2 separate regions of the Homo sapiens genome follow, and region 1 is linked to region 2. The links are contacts of gene promoters, found by promoter capture Hi-C in blood cells and fetal thymus (Javierre and others, 2016). All regions are on one chromosome and are shown on one strand. Each heading gives the region's core, a stretch centred on a gene start or on the middle of the fragment in contact. The rest is flanking DNA. Distances are from core to core; before and after follow the strand shown.

What was found. Contacts are between HindIII fragments. The CHiCAGO score rates a contact against its expected background, and 5 or more counts as called.
Region 1: a contact is called between a fragment that was not itself captured here and the fragment with the promoter of OXGR1 in region 2, in 1 of 17 cell types (monocytes). The highest score is 5.6, in monocytes.

Annotation. Positions count from the first base shown.
Region 1 is chr13:97,367,096-97,370,399 of GRCh38, reverse strand. The region is part of intron 8 of MBNL2 (muscleblind like splicing regulator 2); the gene reads right to left. Among named protein-coding and RNA genes, the nearest start is that of RAP2A, 65 kb to the left of the region's middle. The HindIII fragment of the contact is 4,464 bases long and covers 1-3,304 here.
Region 2 is chr13:96,993,090-96,996,495 of GRCh38, reverse strand. OXGR1 (oxoglutarate receptor 1) reads left to right here and starts at 2,020. Exons shown (of 4, transcript NM_001346194.2): 1 at 2,020-2,198. The HindIII fragment of the contact is 5,494 bases long and covers 1-3,406 here.

The sequences.
Region 1 (3,304 bases), core at 350-2,849, 370 kb before region 2:
CTGCGCCTGGCCCATTATATGGTTTCTAAAGATGACCTGGCTACTTTACATAACTAGCTCAAAGCTCTGTTCAAATCCAGCTCATCTCTCCAGTGTAAGATTCATCTTAGCTTGAGCTGCTAAGGCAGTATACCATCATGGTTAAAGCAAGTCTTCTGGAGCCAAGTTTCAACTCCAGCAAGACCATTTAGAAGCTGTCTGACTTTGGCTGAGGTAGCTAACTTTTGTTTCAGTTTTACCATCTATCAAATGGGATGATGATCATTGTACCCATGTCATAAAACTATTGTTAAGAATTGAGTGTCTACATCTATACGTAACTATCCTGTCTTACATAGTATATAATAGAATATATGATGATATGTAATATATTACATGAGAGAGACCATTTAGAATCATACCTGGCACATAATAAGAGGTTTATAATAATAATATTATTACTATTAGGTATAATTTGTCTATTAAGGCCCAAATACCTTAACTGAAACAGAAAATAGTGCTTAGTAAATCTGTTTGTTGTATTTTTGTTTCCTTATCTGCTCCCAAAGCTAAATAATCAAAAAACATTTTATATTTCCCAAACATATTTGGATTCTGTCTTTATTTAATCTCAAACCACCAGTCTAAATTCAGTGAAAACTTTTATTGGTGGCACCTTGATTCAGCCTGAGGATAGAGTGGCTTGTTCAGCTTGGCTCCCCGTGGGGTAATGTGTAAATAGCACTAGACCTAAGAAGCTGTCATGGGATGTTTTCATCTATCCTCTTTCTTCAATCAATGACTTGTATCTAATTACAAATGCCTGTGAGATTTTAAATATTTGAACTGACAGTCTGAATTGATCAAATTAACAAAAAATCTGTCAAAATCCCACTATATTTTGTGTTAAAGACAGAAAAGAAGGCAGGGTGCTTATCGGTCATCGAACTCTGGAATCATTAGTTTCACTTTCATTCTGTTTGTGTTTATCTTTGTAATCTCATGCTTTGGGCCTAAAATAATAGTCACTGAACCTTTGGTTCACTGAATCTCAGAGCTGAGAGGGACTCCAGGGGCATCTAGTTCTACTCCTCCTTTCACAAATGAGGAAACTGAGATTCATTATGTTTAAATGACTTACATAATCCACGTGGGTATGATTCTATTTGAGTTTAAAGAGTGAAATCTTAACAAGATGATAACTTGTTATTTCAGTCATTACCAAGCCCTGGGTTTCCTATGACTGGATGCTAAAATAATTGCCAAGGTCTTTTGCTGATGCTTTGCTCTTTGAAACTTATTGAAAATACATAAAGAATATCATATCTGGAAATTTGTGTTCACTATTATTTATTTTTCCATGGTTTTTATCTGCAAGCAGACCTGCATCAAGAGCTGCTAAAGGATTTCTCTTCTTCATCATTTAAGTGCAATCCAGCAGCAACTATTACATCTGATAAACTGCAAAACACTGAATATAGGATTCTTGAAGCTACTGTCAGGTACTCCTTTAATTACATTTCTTTGGATTAAATTGAAATCAGAGTTCAGCTATGCTTGCAATTAAAGAAGTTGAAACCTCAACTTATTTCCTTTTCCACTCGCACCCTTCCTGAAAGTGATATATTTTAGCTTCTGAATATTCCATGCTTCCAACCTCTGCCTCCCTACACACACACATACACAGACACGAACACACACACACACACACACACACACAAACTTGAATATACCTATGGAATCTCTCTCTCAAAGTTTTTTTTCTACTAAATGGAGCCAAAGAATCACTAGGCTTGAACAATATATATGACACATGGTCAAATATTTATTATGCTAAAATAATTTATCCTACAACTCCAAACTATTTCTTTATCTTGGCTTCTTTTCCTTTCTTAAAAAAGATCTCTAAGTGCCCAAAAGGCTAAACTTATCATATAGAATTTCACTGTAACAAATACTGCTATATTATACTTCAAACTTGTATTTTATTTTATTTTATTTTATTTTAAGACAGGGTGTCACTCTGTCACCCAGGCTAGAGTGCAGTGGCATGATCATGGCTCACTGCAGCCTCGACCTCCCCAGGCTCAGGCGATCCTCCCACCTCAGCCTCCCAAGTAGCTGGGACTACAGTGTATGGCACCCCGTGCCTGGCTAATTTTTTTCATATTTTTGTAGAGACCAGATTTTACCATGTTGCTCAGGCTGGTCTCCAACTCCTGGGCTCAAGTGATGCTCCTCCCTCGGCTTCCCAAAATGCTGGGATTACAAGCATGAGGCACTGCACTCAGTCCAAACTTGTTTTCTTATAAAAGGACTTTGTAATAAAAATTGGGTCAAAAATCACATAAACATAGTTCAAGGAGGCAGGACTTCAGACTTGAAAGAAACAGGTATCCAGCTTCCCTATTAAGAATGAGTGATTGAGAAGAGCTTTGGACCTAATAATGGAAAGATGCAAACAGTCTCACTCCCTTCTCCCATCCCACATTAAATAATAATCATCATCATCATCTTCCCAGCTAAGGAACTAATCCTTGCCTGTTCTTTGTTCTGTTTGTTTCGAAGCTGGGTTGGTTTTCCTTAGAGGACCGGTTGGCATTTTAGAGGTGGGAGTGAATTGCTGAAGAATCGTCCTCAGTTGATTGACACCTGCCTCTGCACTGCTGTTCGGCCTCCCCTCCCTCCCCCACTCTCTGCTCTCTCCTGCTCTGTCACAATGCTGAGGCCACAGTCAGCACTGTCACGGGGTTTAACTTTTATTCCTGCATTCCTGTCCACTCACGCCTCTCTTTGTAGGGATGAAATCTGCAGAGCTGGAATCGTGGATTCACTTGAATGTGGAAAGCAGCATGACTCAGCCCTCCCAGCCTGCAGAATGCGGGTTGGGACTGCCGTGATCCCCCAACACGATTTCCCCTAATTTCTTTTATCCCTTGTCATCTTTTATTAGCAGAGCTGATTTTATTTTTAAAAACCCATGAAACTAAAAACCAAACCAAAATTGTTCTTCTGTGAAGGGAGGGCATGCGCAATGAAGTATTCTTCCAGGCGAGGTGAGAGTTTCTGCTCACTCACCCTCACGCTGTCTCCTTGTGGCTAGGAGCACATGTTTGCAAGTTGGGAGGCTAGGGTCACGGATACAATCAGCTTGTGACCACAGAGTAGGAAATAGCAGCTGGCTGTCACTACGAAATAGTACATCCATGGTCTCACTGGCACATGCATTAAACCAACAGAGTTAAATGCTCCTCATCAGTTATATCCAGCCTTTGTGAGTTCAGCGGCACCCATGACTCTTCATTCCGGATGGTTTGGCTCTTAG
Region 2 (3,406 bases), core at 771-3,270:
CAGACCTCTATGGCTCTGACCTCGGGCTTGTCATTTGGACCACTCTAATTCTGTGTCCTCCTTTGAAAAGTGAATACATAGGACTGAATTTTTTAAAACGTCAGTTTAAAAAATTATAGTAAAATACACGTAAAAATAAATGTACTATCTTAACCATACTGAAGTGTGGTTCAGTGGCATTATTATTGTGCAACAATATTGTTATGCAACCACCCCACCACCCATCCACAGAACTCTTTTCATCTACCAAAATTGAATTTCATACTCATTAAACAATAGCTCCTCATTCCCTCTCCCCACAATTCCTGGCAACCATTATTCTAATTTCTGTCTCCATAACTTTGACAACTCAGGCACCTCATATAAGCAGAATCGTACAGTATTTGTGCTTTTGTGGCTGGCTTCTTTTGTTTAGCATAATGTCCTCAGGGTTCCTCCATGTTGCAGTATGTGTCAGAATTTCCTTCATTTTTAAAACTGAATAATGTTCCATGGAATGTATACATCACATTTTCTTCATCCATTGATAGGCACTTGGGCTGCATCCACATTTTGGCTATTGTGAATAATGCTGCTATGAACATGGGTGTGCAAGTATCCGTTTGAGTCTCAGCTTTCAATTCTTTGGGGTATATTCCCAGAAGCAGAATTGCTGGCTTGTGTCATAATTCTATTTTTAATTTTTAGAGGAACCATTATACTTTTTTTTTTCCATAGCACCTGCACAATTTTAACTTTACAGGACTGGATATTTTTAAATGTCCTTTCCATGTCTAGAGTTCTAGGACCCAGTACTTGTTTTTCAAATAACCTCTTTAAGTCATTTCCTCGTTAGCTGGAAATCCTGCTCACCATGGAAAAACACTGGGATGTCTTTTACTTCAGAAAGCCTTCATTTGGGTTTAGTCCCCTCCCAGCCCCTTATTTACAAGTGGCAAGCCCTAATCATGTTTTTAATTTATTTCTTGTTTTCCTATAAGACATCAGCTCCTGGAAGCAAAGATTATGTATTATTCTTCAATATCTCCACGGTGCTTGACACAGAATAATCAAACAGCAAATGTCTGATCAATGCATAGGTGGGAACAAAACAGGGTCAACTATTTCCAGATGAAGAATTGAAAAAATGATTAAACATAGTAAAATTAGAGAACATTTTTTCTCCTAATGCAAAATATTTTCCTGGAGAGGCTGGAATTCAAATAATCAAAATGATAAGCATGATAATAAAAATGCCTAACTAGGGCTATCCCAACCATCAGCCAGGGCGGAATCTTTCCACCTGGGCCCTGGTGGGACACCTAACCTAACATTCTTGCTCCTGCTGGCTGGCATTCCCAGAGGATGGGCTATACATGGTGTTTGATGCCCATCAACATGGAAGTGCAGAAGAGACATTCAATGCCCGTCCATGGAAGAGCGAAGAGGGGCATTCTCCAAGCACCCCCATTCGCTAATACAGTGAACTCTTTGATGCTGGAAGAGATCTTGAAGTTCAACGGTTCGGGAGGCGCTAGTATACTGGACGATGTGGCTGAGGTTCAGAGAAGAGAAAAGGCGAATCCTAAGTTATGTAGCAAGAAGGCAACCTACTCCCTAGATCTGGAGATACAGACAAACGCTCTTTGCAGGGATAGAAACTATTTTTAAGCCACCTTGCTAAGCGCTGGAGGGCAGGGTTGTAATTGGATACAGGGAAATGACAACGCTTCAGTAAGTCGCCTCCATCCCACGCTAAATAAGAGGCACTGGACGCCTGGGCGACAGAGCGAGACTCCTTCTCAAAAGAAAAAAAAAAAAAAGAGGCACTGGGCTGTAGGAGAGTGGTGAAATTTCTGGACCAAGACAAGGCGGCCACAACCCTCCTGGGGCAACAACCCTCCCGCCGGGCTGGTTTTTTGGAACCTCTGCAAACACTTTCTCCTGGGTCAGTTTCCCGCCAAACCGGGATGGAGGATGTCCAGAGGTCCCGGGAGTGGAAGCCGCTGTCCCTGTGTCTACTGGGAAGTGGGCGAGGCGGGATGCTGCTGGCCAGGCTGCTCGGGGCGAGGACCCGAGAACACGCACTTGCTCGCTGGGCCTCGGAGGGGTGGGAGGGGCGGGGCGGTGCGCAGCCTCCCCGGGACAGGTCTGCGGTCCGGGACCAACTAGGCTGCACAGGCACGCTGGGCGCATGTCCGCCTCGCCGGGGCTGCCAGGTGAGCCGCGCGTGATCGGGGAGCGGGGCCCACCGGCCGGAGGGAGCGGGTATAGGGGACCCTGCCCTGACCCGGAGGGAGACGGGAGGTGCCCGAGGAGCAGGGGAAAGAGCACCCCCGCACGTCCCTGCAGCAGGCAGGGTCGGACGGAGCAGCGCCCCCTTCTTCTCTGGAGGCAGCAGGAGCACCCCAGATCCTGTGGCGGGAGGCGAAGTTTCATTTTAGGGAACAAAAAGCCCAGGGCGAGAAGACATTTGACTTGGAGAGAACTGGGGGAGTTAGGGATCTCTGATTTCATCTCACACTTTTTTTCACACCCAAGTGAGGGGTCTGGGAGGTGGGCAGGGAGAGTGCTTAGGAGACAAACAGAGTTAATCCCTCACCCCATTGATCACCGCCCTGCTGAATGTTCTCAAAGCTCACCCTGCATCGTGGTGGACTGTGTGGTGTTGGAAACGACCAAAGACTCTGCCCCACCCCCACCCCCAACAAGCGAGGAAAATGTTTCCCCTGAAATGTCTTTCTTCTCTGTCTTGTTTTTTGTTTCGTTGCTATGGATTCGTGAACTAGCTTGTAATGGTCTCTAAACCTCTAACTTGTATGTATAATATTTGCGTGTCCATGCATGCATTTTTCTGAAGCGAGCTCTCAGAAGTTGTATTTGTTTCTCCCGAAGAATAAATAGGCAAAACCATATCTTTGGGCTGCATCAACATGACCTCTTAATAGTCTTCAGGGAAACTGAGTTGCAGATTCTTATTTAACGAATTGGGGATTGGCCGGGTGTGTGGCTCACGTCTGTAATCCCAGCACTTTGGGAGGCTGAGGCAGGTGGATCACCTGAGGTCAGTAGTTCGAGACCAGCCTGGCCAACAGGCTGGTGAAACCCTGTCTCTATACAAATACAAAAAATTAGCCAGACGTGGTGGAACGGGCCTGTAATCCCAGCCACTCCGAGGCTGAGGCAGGAGGATCCCTTGAACCCAGGAGGTGGAGGTTGAAGTGCGCCAAGATCATGGCCACTGCACTCCAGTCTGGGCGACAGAGCAAGATTTCGTCTCCAAAACAACAACAACAATAATAACACAAACAAACAAAAAACAATAAAGTGGGGATTGAGGGAAGAGCCTTGAGGCTCCCAGAAGGGTTGGGGAGAAAGATTCCTTCAGGGACCAGGGAGGACAGCACTTACCCAGTCACAAATTTAC